2 separate regions of the Homo sapiens genome follow, and region 1 is linked to region 2. Evidence: promoter capture Hi-C in human tissues and cell types (Jung and others, 2019). All regions are on one chromosome and are shown on one strand. Each heading gives the region's core, a stretch centred on a gene start or on the middle of the fragment in contact. The rest is flanking DNA. Distances are from core to core; before and after follow the strand shown.

Evidence for each region. Contacts are between HindIII fragments. The study calls those that stand out against the background at their distance.
Region 1: a fragment that was not itself captured here is called in contact with the fragment with the promoter of MAPK7 in region 2 in 1 of the 25 tissues and cell types used here (stomach).

Annotation. Positions count from the first base shown.
Region 1 is chr17:19,780,126-19,786,876 of GRCh38, reverse strand. ULK2 (unc-51 like autophagy activating kinase 2) reads left to right here. Exons shown (of 27, transcript NM_014683.4): 21 at 791-940; 22 at 2,972-3,180; 23 at 4,810-4,988; 24 at 5,773-5,891; 25 at 6,248-6,405. Among named protein-coding and RNA genes, the nearest start is that of ALDH3A1, 35 kb to the right of the region's middle. The HindIII fragment of the contact is 9,613 bases long and covers 1-6,751 here.
Region 2 is chr17:19,373,784-19,380,758 of GRCh38, reverse strand. It overlaps MAPK7 (mitogen-activated protein kinase 7), which reads right to left and starts at 2,261. Exons shown (of 7, transcript NM_002749.4): 1 at 2,129-2,261; 2 at 1,627-1,863; 3 at 812-977; 4 at 1-151. The coding sequence starts at 1,858. It also overlaps a transcript of B9D1 not described here. RefSeq lists enhancers at 1-298, 2,636-2,865 and silencers at 2,036-2,295, 2,366-2,425, 3,136-3,185. The HindIII fragment of the contact is 16,435 bases long and covers 1-6,975 here.

The DNA.
Region 1 (6,751 bases), core at 2,738-5,237, 400 kb before region 2:
TTTACAGATTGGGATTACTATTTGGAGTTAGTTACTTTTGGTCTGAAGAGCTATCCTTTGTATTTCTTGTAAGACAGGTCTGCTGGCAGTAAATTCTCTCAGCTTCTGTTTATTTGGGAATGTCTTTATTTTGATTTCTTTTCTTTCTTTTTTTTTTTTTTTTGAGACGGAGCCTCACTCTGTCACCCAGGCTGGAGTGCAGTGGCATGATCTCAGCTCACTGCAACCTCTGCCTCCTGGGTTCAAGAGATTCTCCTGACTCAGGCTCTTGAGTAGCTGGGATTACAGGCACGCATCACCATGCCCGGCAAAGTTTTGTATTTTTAGTAGAAACAGGGTTTCACCACGTTGGCCAGGCTGGTCTCGAACTCCTGACCTCAGGTGATCCACCCGCCTTGGCCTCCCAAAGTGCTGGGATTACAGGCATGAGCCACCACACCTACCCTAGTTTAACCTGTTTTTATTCCCAGTTCTTGGCGTTCATTTTTTTAGTACTGTCTTCAACATGTATAACTTACAGTTCATGTATTTTAGAAGTATACAAACATAACTCTGAATGCTAAATTTTGGTGTGAAGAAGATTCACACTTGAGATTACTATAAGTTATTTTAATGAAAATATTGTATTACGTTTTCTGATTTTAAGAGCAATAAGTACTTTTTGTAAGAAGAGGGAAAAAAAAAAAACCACTAGACTCCTGATATAAAAGTCAGTATCCCCCTGCAATCCCATCTCCCAGATATAAACACTATCAGGGTAATATGACCTTCTATAAACTTTTTGTTGTAGCTCCGGCAGGAGCCTGTGGTGGTGTTCTGGCACCTCCTGCAGGTACAGCAGCAAGTTCCAAGGCTGTCCTCTTCACTGTAGGGTCTCCTCCACACAGTGCGGCAGCCCCCACTTGTACCCACATGTTCCTTCGAACAAGAACAACCTCAGGTAAGGAGCATTTGTTATATTACAGTCTTTGGCTAGTATTTGGAATGTAGTGTTTTGACAAATGACTCAGTGTTGTAACTTGGACAAGTCACTTAATTCTCTGGGCTTCAGTTTCTTTACCAGTGAAATGGAGATTACTATTTTCTTTATCTTAATGGGTTATAAGAAGTAAATGAGGCATCATTTGTGGGGAAAAAAACTTTGTAAAGTGCTATATTATATATTAAAATATAAATATATGTTGTATATGTTTTTACAAAATGACATATAGTATAAATATGACTTCTTCGTGAAGAAGCAAATCGTATATGGTTCTTCTCAGCTTATATATTAAAGGGTTACTTTAGTAGATCCAATAAATTATTTGAAAATTATAGGTTTGGTTTTTTTTTGGTTTTTTTTTTTAAAGAAACTTGTTTTGGCTAGGTGAGGTGGCTTATGCCTGTAATCCCAGCACTTACTTTGGGAGGCTGAGGCAGGCAGATCACTTGAGGCCAGGAACTCGAGACCAGCGTGGCCAACATGGTGAAAACCTGTCTTTACTAAAAATACAAAAATTTAGGCAGGTGTGGTGGCAGGTACCTGTAATCCCAGCTACTCAGGAGGCTGAGGCAGGAGAATCACTTGAACCTGGGAAGTGGAGGTTGCAGTGAGCCGAGATTGCGCCATTGCACTCCAGCCTGGGTAACGAGCGAAACTCTGTTTCAGAAAAGAAAGAAACTTGTTTTATTTATTTATTTTTAATTTTTTGTACTTTGGGTCTCAATCTTTGCACTTAATCCTATATACAGTTAGAAGGCTAATAGATTTATCATTTATAATCTGTAAATAGGTTAATACCAAAACTTAAGAAAGTATTTAGATTGGACTTGAAATCAATAATTTGATGTCTTATCTGTTGTATCATGAGTCAAGTTATCTTATTCTAAATAAGTTGCTGATCAAGAGACCAGGTTAATAAGCAAAGGATAGAAATAGATAAGAGAAAATAGATCTAAAATTATGTTTTTAAGACGATTAAAAACCTTGAATAATAAGAAAATACCATTTTACGAAAGTAACATTTTATATCTGTTAACTATACCTATATCTTAAAAAGTACAATGCCCAAGACTGGGCATGGTGGTTCATGCCTGTAATCCCAGCACTTTGGGAGGCCGAGGCAGGAGGATCACTTGAGGTCAGGAGTTTGAGACCAGCCTGGGCAACATGGTGAAACCCCATCTCTACAAAAAAAATACAGAAATTAGCCAGACATGGTGGCATACGCCTATAGTCCCAGCTACTTGTGAGGCTGAGGTGAAAGAATTACCTGAGCCCAGAAAATCAAGGCTGCAGTGAGCTGTGATCACGCCACTGCAATTCAGCCTGCGCAACAGCAAGACCCTGACTCAAAAAAAAAAAAAAAAAAAAAAAAAAAAAAGTATCATGTCCAGTGTTATTGAGGTTTAGTAGGATCTATGTGCTTACTCAGGGCTGCGTTAGAGAGTACTATAACAGTTCTTAGGAAGAGCTGTAAAAATATTTATTGATCTATGCTAATTCCATTCCTTCTTATACCACTTCAGAGTATTTATCACAAAGAAATTATTCAAAAGAAGGAACAACTGTCTGCATTTCATTACAGTGCTATTTGTAATATGAATAAAATCAGAAATAGTATAAATGACTCCAGATAAACATTATATAATATATATAAATTTAATGAATCAGTGCATCCATTGAGTTTTATAATTATGAGGCCCTGTGGAGCAGCAAGGAGAAATGAATATGATCTAAATTTGTTTAAAACAGAGTATAAAAAAACTAGCTCTGATGATGTCTAATATAAAATATATAGACAAGGAATAACAATGAACATGGATAAGTAAAAACTATTAATATCCTCAAATAGTACATAGGGGGTCAGTGAGTTTCTTTTAACGAAACTTTCCTTTGTCACCTCAGCAGGTTTGTTTAGTAAATAAGAGTAGGAGTGGGTGTGAAAGCCCTAACTCTGGACACTGCCATGTATCCTCTGTTTCCTTGTAGTGGGGCCCAGCAACTCCGGGGGCTCTCTTTGTGCCATGAGTGGCCGCGTGTGCGTGGGGTCCCCGCCTGGCCCAGGCTTCGGCTCTTCCCCTCCAGGAGCAGAGGCAGCTCCCAGCCTGAGATACGTGCCTTACGGTGCTTCACCCCCCAGCCTAGAGGGGCTCATCACCTTTGAAGCCCCTGAACTGCCGGAGGAGACGCTGATGGAGGTAGAAAAGAGACTATAGTGGTGTGAATGTAATGTTGATTTGATATGAGAACATTCTAGTGATGACAAGAACAAAATACATTAAATAGTTAGGAAGTTATGTTCTCTTTAACGTGCCTTTTCTGTTTGAAAAGTATTGCTGATGTCTTTTTAAATTAACATTGACAGTGACACTCATCCATAATAAGCTTTGGTTTATAGGAAGAAACACATAGATTCTGTGTTTTTCTTTCTTTCTTTTTTTTTGAGACAGAGTCTTGCTCTGTCACCCAGGCTGGAGTGCAGTGGTGCAATCTCGGCTCACTCCCACCTCTGCCTCCTGGGTTCAAGCAATTCTCCTGCCTCAGCCCCCACGAGTAGCTGGGATTACAGGCACACGCCACCATGCCCGGCTAATTTTTGTATTTTTAGTAGAGACGGGGTTTCACCATGTTGGCCAGGCGGGTCTCGAACTCCTGACCTTGTGATCTGCCCACCTCTGCCTCCCAAAGTGCTAGGATTACAGGCGTGAGCATTCTAGTACATTCTATTGCATGTTCCAGTGTATTGAAACATACAGTGCAATATGCTGTCACAGAGCAGAGAGACTTTTAGAAGTCAATTGGCTTATTCTCCTGTCACTAGGAAAATGATTCTCATCTTTATTTAACCATAAAAGAGTGGGAAACTTTTAGGCTTGAGATTTCAGAATGCATTTATAACTAAAAACAAATCTCAAAACAACAATCTAGAATACCCATTTATTTATTTATTTATTTGTTTGTTTGTTTGTTTGTTTATTTGAGACAGAGTCTTGCTCTGTCACCCAGGTTGGAATGCAGTGGTGCGATCTCAGCTCACTCTAACTTCCACCTCCTGGGTTCAAGCCACTCTCCTGCCTCAGCTTCCTGAGGAGCTGGGACTACAGGCACATGCCACCACGCCCAGCTAATTTTTGTATTTTTAGTAGAGACGGGATTTCGCCATGTTGGCCAGGCTGGTCTCAAACTCCTGACCTCAGGTGATCCACCCGCCTTGGCCTCCCAAAGTGCTTGGATTACAGGCATGAGCCACCATGCCCGGCCTAGAATGCCCATTTTTAAATGACAGCCCTCTGAATGCTGTTATGTCTACCCACACTCCCCTCTTTAACTAACTGAAAAGATCACAGAAAGTTAGAGCTTTGGTATTAGTAATCACTGTTAACTGAAAAACGACCAGAAATTAAATAAAGCAACTCTGAAATTATAAGAAGTCAGCAGAATTCAATACAGTATCAAGAAGTGTGATTTAGCACCTATAGTATCCTTGTAATCTTTGTGTCTACCTTGTCACGTTTTTGTCTCATGTATATTGATTTAATCGTTCAGCTTTCTTTTCTTTTTCTGGTAAAAGCACAGCGACCCATCCTGAGTTTACTTATGTGGGTACTCTGATACACATACACAAACACATGCATATACCTATATTTGGTTTCATTTGTGTTCATTTTCTTACCAGCTTTCTGAAATTTAAAAATTTCAATCTCCTTTTGTCATTCTGATACTCATAAGTATAGAAAACATGATCAGCGGCCATGGTTTATGTACAGAAATGAGTATGTACGTATTTTTAATCTGAAATTTTCTAAGACAAATTGACTTTGCTGCAGCGGGAACACACAGACACCTTACGCCATCTGAATGTGATGCTGATGTTCACTGAGTGTGTGCTGGACCTGACAGCCATGAGGGGAGGAAACCCTGAGCTGTGCACATCTGCTGTGTCCTTGTACCAGATCCAGGAGAGTGTGGTGGTGGACCAGATCAGTCAGCTGAGCAAAGACTGGGGGTGGGTGCCCCCTTGTCATTCATTTCCAGACTTTTCATGCTTTGTCTAAACTTGTGTCTAAGTTGTAGGTATTGTCATCCACTGAAGATCATATCTCATTATTAAAAGCTAGGAGTCTCAATTATTTCTTTGTACTACATTTCACTATATGAGCCAAGACCTGGAGATTATGCAACCTCAGTGTTGCCTTTCCTTGTAAATTATACTGTTGAAGTTCTTTTGTGTAAATAGATTGTATTGATTTTTATCTGAGTGTATCCGTTATTTTCACAGTACACACATCTTTAACTATGCCTTGTCCCTTGAGAGTTTACTTGTGCATTAAGAAATTAAGGAGGGCTGGTCGCAGTAGCTTATGCCTATATGTAATTCCAGCACTTTGGGAGGATGGGGCAGAAGGATTGCTTGAGCCCATGGGTTCGAGACCAGCCTGGGCAATATGATGAATCCCTGTCTCTACAAAAAATACAAAAATTAGCCGGGCATGGTGGTGCGTCCCTGTGGTCCCAACTATTAATATTCGGGAGGCTGAGGTGGGAGGATCCCTTGAGCCCAGGAAGTAGAGGCTGCAGTAAGCCAAGATCAAGCCACTATACTTCGGCCTGGGGGACAGAGCAAGACTCTGTCAAAAAAAAAAAAAAAAAAAGAAAAGAAAGAAGAAAAGAAATCAAAGAGGATGCTATTCCTTTATAGAAAGGCAATTTTAATGGTGACCTGTTGTGTAGAGTGCCACATCTTACATTAGTTCACAAGATAACCCTCTGCTACTGTCTTTTGGGTGCAGGCGGGTGGAGCAGCTGGTGTTGTACATGAAAGCAGCACAGCTGCTTGCGGCTTCTCTGCATCTTGCCAAAGCCCAGATCAAGTCCGGGAAACTGAGCCCATCCACAGCTGTGAAACAAGGTATGGGAGAAGGCAGCGTGTAACTCCAGGGGTCAGTCCTTAAGTTGCTCTTTCCCATCACACTGTGAGAGAGTGTCTGATGAGTACTCACTGTTGTTTTTATTTTTCAGTATTCTTAAAGGGAAAAGATGCTGGGTTGTTAGCTTTTTGCAGTTCAATTGATAGAAGTCTGAAGTGCATTATTCTCAATCTTTTCATATTGAAAGAGATAACATGAAAAAATCCTATTTCTGGTCCTTTTTTTGAATGATCACATAGTGACACCTTCCCTATATATCAGCAGGAAAGATACATATAACTGTGTCTTTATTTCTGGAGGAAAATTAAAATTAGTTCCCATCTCAATTTTTTTTCAGTTGTCAAGAATCTGAACGAACGATATAAATTCTGCATCACCATGTGCAAGAAACTTACAGAAAAGCTGAATCGATTCTTCTCTGACAAACAGAGGTTTATTGATGAAATCAACAGTGTGACTGCAGAGAAACTCATCTATAATTGTGCTGTAGAAATGGTAACCCTTTCTAAGGTTTAATATTGTATAGTACTACTTATCTTTAAGTGTCTTTTTAATTGAATATCTATATGACAGCTATCCTTTTAAAAGATAATGTCTCAAGTCCCAAGTATTGTGGATTGCCTTCTACTAAAGAAGTAATTGGATTTAAGCAACTGTTAATGTCATTTACTGGATGTATTTTAAGTAATTACAAATCCGTTTACCACATTTGCTATAAGTTTATTACAGCTCTTATTAAACATTGCTGGCATTAGGCATGATCTAATCTTTTTTTTTTCTTTTTTTTTTTTTCTTGAGACGGAGTTACTCTGTCGCCCAGGCTGGAGTACAGTGGCACGAT
Region 2 (6,975 bases), core at 1,012-3,511:
CAGGTCACGGTGGATGACCTGAGCCGAGTGCATGTACTTCAGGCCCCGCAGCAGTTGGTACAGGAAGTAGCGCACGTGTTCCAGTGTGAGGGGCTGTGAGGAGTGGATGATCTGGTGCAGGTCGCTTTCCATCAGGTCCAGGACCACGTAGCTGGAAGGGGAAGGAAGGAGAGAAGCATGGGTTGGCCTGATCACACTCCAGGGACAAGCCCCATCCTCACCACACCCTTCCGATTCCAGACAGGTAACAGCCTTACCCTGGGACCCCATAGGGGCTGACGGCATGGTATGGAAGAAGAGCATCACGTTTTAGATTCTCTACGACTTTTCCATGAACTTGGTTAAATCACTTTTGTCTCCAGACCTAGTTTCCCCATCAGATAAAAGATGGGGTTGGACTACACCAGGGCTGGCCAATAGGTTTCCTTTTGGGGCTATCTCCATTGTTTGGTAGTGGCAGCTTGAAGAACTATGATGAAAATTGACCAGGCTTGTCCACTGTCTGTAGGAAAGTGTTCTGTGATTGATTAGTGAAGTCTGCTATGGGAATAGGAGGGTGTGGTCATAGTAGGAATGTCCTACATTTGACATCCTATATACTAAGATTCTATAAAACTGTAAAATCATCTGTACACTTCTTGAGGAATAACAGTTGTCCCTGGCAAAACTCTAAAGAACTGGTCCTAGAACTGCGGGAATTTTCCCAGCCTGCTTCAGATTAGATTCAGCTGCCTTTCCAGAACTTCGGCAACATGGTTGCAGCCTTCAGAAAAGTCCCAAGTCTGGCTCCCTCTCCCATCCCGCTTCTTACACAGATTTGAATTCGCCATAGGGCACGGTGGGCCTCAGGATGTCCTTGATGGCGATGATGTTGTCGTGTTTAAAGTGCTTGAGGATCTTCAGCTCCCTGAGGGTCCGCTTGGCATTGGTCACCACATCGAAAGCATTAGGGATCTTCTTGATGGCCACCTGCTGGCCTGAGGAGCAGGGAAAAGGGACATACCAGAGGATACCTTGGAGAAACTGCAGAGTCGACTCAGCCCCTATCAACACCTCCCTTCTAGGATGCAAATGACAACAGCTACCAAGTATTGGGTACCTACTATGTGCCAAGCCCTGTGCTAAGCATGTTACCTACATTATTAAATGTTACCTTCACAACTCCCCTGCGGGGCAGGTCCCAATAGGTCAACGTTAAAGAGAAGGAAATATGGCTTAGTAACTTGTTGGAGGTTGCACGGATGCCCAGTGGTGTAGCTCAGCCTCTTATGCCTACACCCTCTCCATCTCAGACCTCACCCATCCCACCACCAGTTCCTTATGCCAGTGTCTGGCTCCAGAACACATTTCTCTCTTAGACACGAAGGACTGGCTCTCCATTCTGGTCTAACTGGGACTATCATTTTCCTAAGGAGGAAGTAGGCAGGCAGGATGGCAAAACCACCAGGCCGGAGTTTCAGAGAACCGAGCCTCCCCGGAGCCTGGCAGGCAGAAGGCCCTGGTCAGTGTGTGTTGACTGGAGCCAGAACTCGCACCCCGCTTTCCTTCCCGGCTGTCTGGGACAGGCCGGTTTCCCACTCCCTGCGACGCTGCCACATCTGGGAGGCGACGGCTCAGGAAGCTCACCGGTGAGGCGGCGGCGGGCGGAGGACACCACTCCATAGGCCCCGTTGCCTATGGTCTCGATGATCTCGTACTCGTCGCCCACGTCAAAGGTCACATCGAAGGAGCGGGCTTTAAGCAGGGCCAGGTTCTTGGCCGCTACAGAGGCAGCGGTGTGGGCGGGTTCGGCCTTCACGGGCCCGGGGGGCTCCGCAGAGCCGTCCTCGCCGTCTTCCTCCTTCAGAGGCTCGGCCATGGTGTCTGTGTGGAGACTCGGGTGAGGAGAGGACCACCTACCGTGGGCCTCAGTGTCCCCTCTGCGGGCTGGGGAGCAGGACCAGGGAACTTCCCAGTTTCCTAAACCGACAAGGGCAGAAGCGCGCGGCTGGTTCGTGGCAGACTAGCTACCCCAGGGGTCCGGGCCCAGAGCCGGGGGCCCGCCAGGGTCGGGGGAGGGGTAGGCGAGGCGCGGGCCAGGAAGAAAGGGAGGGGCGGGGCACCTGGGTTTCCTCAGGGCCGCACTCACCCCCGCGCCTCCTCAAGGCTTTCAGAGGTCCCGAGGCTCGCCGGCCTCCCGTCCCCAGCGCGGGGGTCTCCGAGGGTGGCTCACTTACTTGTTCAAAGGCCGCAGCCACCACCTCAGCGTCTTGAGCTGCCCTGTCCGTCCCCCTCCGCCCCGCCTCCCAAGGCCACGCTCCCTCCAGCTCCTGGCCAATCGCTGAGCTACTGCTGCGGAGGGTCCTGCCCCTTCTACCTACTGCGTCCAATCCTAGCCCACCGGCCGAGAAAGCCACGCCTGGCGCGCGCCGCTGTCCAGCTCGCCGGCGGGAGCCGCCCAAAGGGTGCCCGGCACTTCGCAGGGGTGTGCTCCCCGCCCTGCACCGCCTTCAAACGCATGCGCACTGGCAGTCGGGCGCCAAGTGAATGGAAGGCAACGCCCCTGCACGTAGCGCGCGCGTCCCCATGAAGCTCTCAACCTCATCCGGCCAATCACAGCTAGTCCCGTGAGCTCGGGGAACTGCCCGGCCTGAGATGCCCAGGTCTGGGACTGTTACCTTGGCTACTGGCTCCCGAAGTCCCCTTCCGCCCAGGGAATTGTGTCCGCCATTTGCTTGGTCCCAGGAGCTCTGGGAATGTGTCATCCCCGGTAGAGGGTGCCCGTCACGGCCAACCACAGAGATCCCGGTCCTCCGGGATTCTAGAGCGTCCGGCCGAACCCTCCACTGACTTCCGGTGGCTGAGCCTCTCCGCAGCTTCCGGCCAAGTTGGACTGCAGCTCGCGGTTTCCTGGCTTCTAGGTATCTTCCCTCCGCTCGTTTGTCTGTCCCGCGATTCCCGTGCTTTGGGCTGCAGCGGAGTTAACCGAGGCGGCCGCCCAACCTCTGCTCCTCTGCGGAGCCCGCGGGTGGGCGGAGCCCTCGCTGGAACCGAGCTGTCCCGACCCACCCCAAAATCCGATAGTTTATTCGTTCATTCATGTAGCAAATGTTTATGGAGCACCGCCCCTCTAAGGCTCAGTGCCGGGAGGCGAAGGTGGACATGGTGGATACTGTGAGCTGGAAGGAAAGGTTTTCTAAAGGGAGCTCGAGGTAGGGCCGAAAAGAAGTGAAGAATTTTGGTTTCACTCCTAGGCGGCTTCTAGAAAAAAGCAATATGTATGCATATTCGTACCTACCTCCCCTTTGGTGTACAAAAATGTAGCATATTATGCTCTTTTCCTGAAGATCATTCCATATCAATAACTGGAGGGGTCCCTCACTTTTAAACAACTTTTAATAACATACCATAAAACTCATCCTTTTATAGTGTACAATTCAGTGTTTTTTGGTATATTCACAGTTGAGCAGCCATCATCACTACCTAATTTTAGGTAGAGTGGTTTATGGAACATTTTCATCGCCCCTAAAAGAAACCTATGTGAACCAAGTATCTGAGACAAGTCTCAAGTCAATTTAGAAAGTTTATTTTGCCAATGTTAAGGACATGGTGGTGACAGCCTCAGGAGGTCCTACAACATGTGCCCAAGATGGTCGGGGCATAGTCAGCCTTTATACATTTCAGGAAGACATAATACATAAGTCAATACATGCAAGATTGACATTGATTTGATGTGCTTATTGGCCATTTGTCTCCTTTGGGGAAATGTCTGTTCAATGTCTATTCTGGAAGGGCGGGACAACTCAAAGGGGAGGGGCTTCCAAGTCACAGGTAGATTTAAACATATCCTGATTGGCAGTTGGTTACAAGAGTTATTATCTATAGAAAGGAATATCTGGGTTATGATAAGGGGTTGTGGAGACCTAGGGTTTTTTGGTTGTTTATTTTATTTTATTTTATTTTATTTTATTTTATTTTATTTTATTTTATTTGAAGAGTGAGTCTCACTCTGTTGCCCAGGCTGGAGTGCAGTGGTGCGATCTCGGCTCACTGCAACCTCCCCCTCCTGGTCTCCTGCCTCAGCCTCCCGAATAGCTGGGATCACAGGCATGAGCCATCAAGCCCGGCTTTTTTTTTTTTTTTTTTTTTTTTTTTGTATTTTAGTAGAGATGGGGTTTCACCCTGTTGGCCTGGCTGGTCTCGAACTCCTGACCTCAAGTCATCCACGCCCCCCTGCTCCCGGCCTCCCAAAGTGCTGGGATTACAGGCGTGAGCCACTGCACCTGGCCAGGAGACCTAGGTTTTATTATGCAGTTGAAGCCTCCCAGTAGCAGGCTATAGAGAGAATAGACAAATATTTCTTATCAGACTTAAGGTCAGTGTTGATGTTAATGTTGGAGGGGTATAATAAGGCATGTCCAACTCTCACCTCCCATCGTGGCCTGAACCAGTCTTTCAGGTTAAATTTTAGGGTGTGCTGGCCAAGGAGGGAGTCCATTCAGATGGTTGCAAAGGGCCTTCTAATTTTATTTTTGGTTTATACCCATTAACGGTCACTCCTCATTCCTCTTTCACCAGAGCCCTTGCAACCACTGAACTACTTTCTGTCTCTATGGACTTGCGTATTGTGGATGCTCTATACTAATGGAATCACACACTGTGTAGTCTTTTGTGTTTGGCTTATTTCACTTAGCATAAAGTTCATGTTGTCATATTAGCACTAATTTTTATGGCCAAATATATTGCATTGTTTAGATATACCATATTTTGTTTATCCATCAGTTTATGAACATTTGGGTTGTTTCAACTTTTTGGCTATTATGATAATGCTTCTGAGAACATTTGTTTACAAGTTTTTTTGTGGACATGTTTTCCTTTCTCTTGGGAGTGGGATTGCTGGGTCACATGGTAAACTATTAACTTCTTGAGAAAGTGCCAAGCTGTTTTCTCCAGCAGTTGCACCATTTTACAAATTCACCAGCAATATTTAAGAGTTCCGATTTCTCCACATCCTCACCAACACCTCTTTTCTTTTTCTGATACTGAGTCTCACTCTATCGCCCAGGCTGGAGTGCACTGGCACGATCTCGGCTCACTGCAACATCTGCACCCCAGGTTCAAGCAATTCTTCTCCCTCAGCTTCCCGAGTAGTTGGGATTACAGGTCCCCACCACCATGTCCAGCTAATTTTTATATTTTTATTAGAGATGGTCAGGCTGGTTTCGAACTCCTGACCTCAAGTGATCCACCTGCCTCAGCCTCCCAAAGTGCTGGGATTACAGGCATGAGCCACAGTACCCAGCCTTATTATTATTATTATTTTTTAATTATAGCCATCCTAGTGGGTGTGAAGTGATACGTCATTGTAGTTTTGATTTGCATTTCCCTAATGACTAAGGATGTTTTCACGGTTTATTGGCCATTTGTCTCCTTTGGGGAAATGTCTGTTCAATATCTATTCAAATCCTTTGACCTTTTTTTTTTTTCTTTTTGAGACAGGGTTTCACTCCAGCCCAGGCTAGAGTGCGGTGGTAGGATCTCAGCTCACTGCAGCCTCCGCCTCCCAAGCTCAAGTGATTCTCCTGCCTCAGCCTCTCAAGTAGCTAGGACTACAGGCACACATCATTGCACTCAGCTAATTTTTGTATTTTTAGCAGAGACAGGGTCTCACTGTGTTGGCCAGGCTAGTCTTGAACTCCTGAGCTCAAGTGATCGGCCTACGTCAGCCTCCCAAAGTGCTGGGATTACAGGCATGAGCCACCGCATCAGCCCTCTGTCCATTTTTAATTGGATTATTTGCCTTTTTATTGTTGAGCTGTCAGAGTTCTTTATATATTCTAAACAAAAGTCCCTTATCAGATGATTTACAGATACAGATATTACCTTATTAGATGATTTACAGATATTTACTTCCCATGATTTACAGATATTTACTTCCATTTCTCAGATCGTCTTTTCACTTTCTTGATAACATCCTCTGTTCCACAAAAGTTTTTAATTTTGATGAAGTCCAGTTATCTGTTTTGTCTTTTGTCACTTGTGCTATTGTCATATCTAAAAAAAAAGCACTCATTTTTACAGCTGCATGATATTCCTTTACGAATATAACCTATTTAACCAAGACCCCCTAGATAGACATTTAGATGAGTTCAGTTTTTTCACTATTGCAAACAATGCTGCAATAAATTTTCTTGAACACATCATTTTGCACACAGCAAGTGTATATGCAGGAAGAATACCAGAAGTGGGAGTGTCAAGTTAAAGAGTATTGTTCTTACAATTTTAGTAGCTAATGTCAAATTTCTATCCTTAGAGATTATACTGATTTAGACACCCACCAGTGGTATGAGAGAATGACTCACACGGTGCTTTTTAAAAGCTTGGAATTATTTGCCTGTCAAAAATGGGGAGATTTGCCATAAGAATCCTGATTTTTGCTTTCTTTTGGGAAATCAGATCAGCATTTCTACGTAGCCATCGAACTGTGACCCCGCCATTGAAAGAACATGTGCTCTCTAATTCACCACAGTCCCTGCCACTCCCTGACAGCCTCCCCAGCACAGGCCGAGGGTCAGATGCTACTTATCATTGTGCTTTCACAACTGTTTTCTACATCTTATTAAAAGCAGGAAAACAAAAGAGGCTGAGATGACATGTGTTTCAGGAAAAGAAAGACCAAGTATATCTTTTTGTGGGAACAAAGACAATCTCATGTGTTATATACAGATACTCCACTCACTTGGCTCACGTTTCCTGCATGGCCACAGTGGGCATTTGAGTTCAAGATTTCTGGTTTAGGTTACCAAAAGCCCCTGAACTAATGTAAATGTCTACCTAGGATTTTTGAGTAGACAAATGCCCTTCAGAGCTGCCTTCCTGAAAGGTATTTCTGGCAGACATCATGGAGGGTGTACTTGAAGGCAGAGCATGCCTTGATTAAAAGACAGACGTGGGATTGGGTGCGGTGACTCACGCCTGTAATCCCAGCACTCTAGG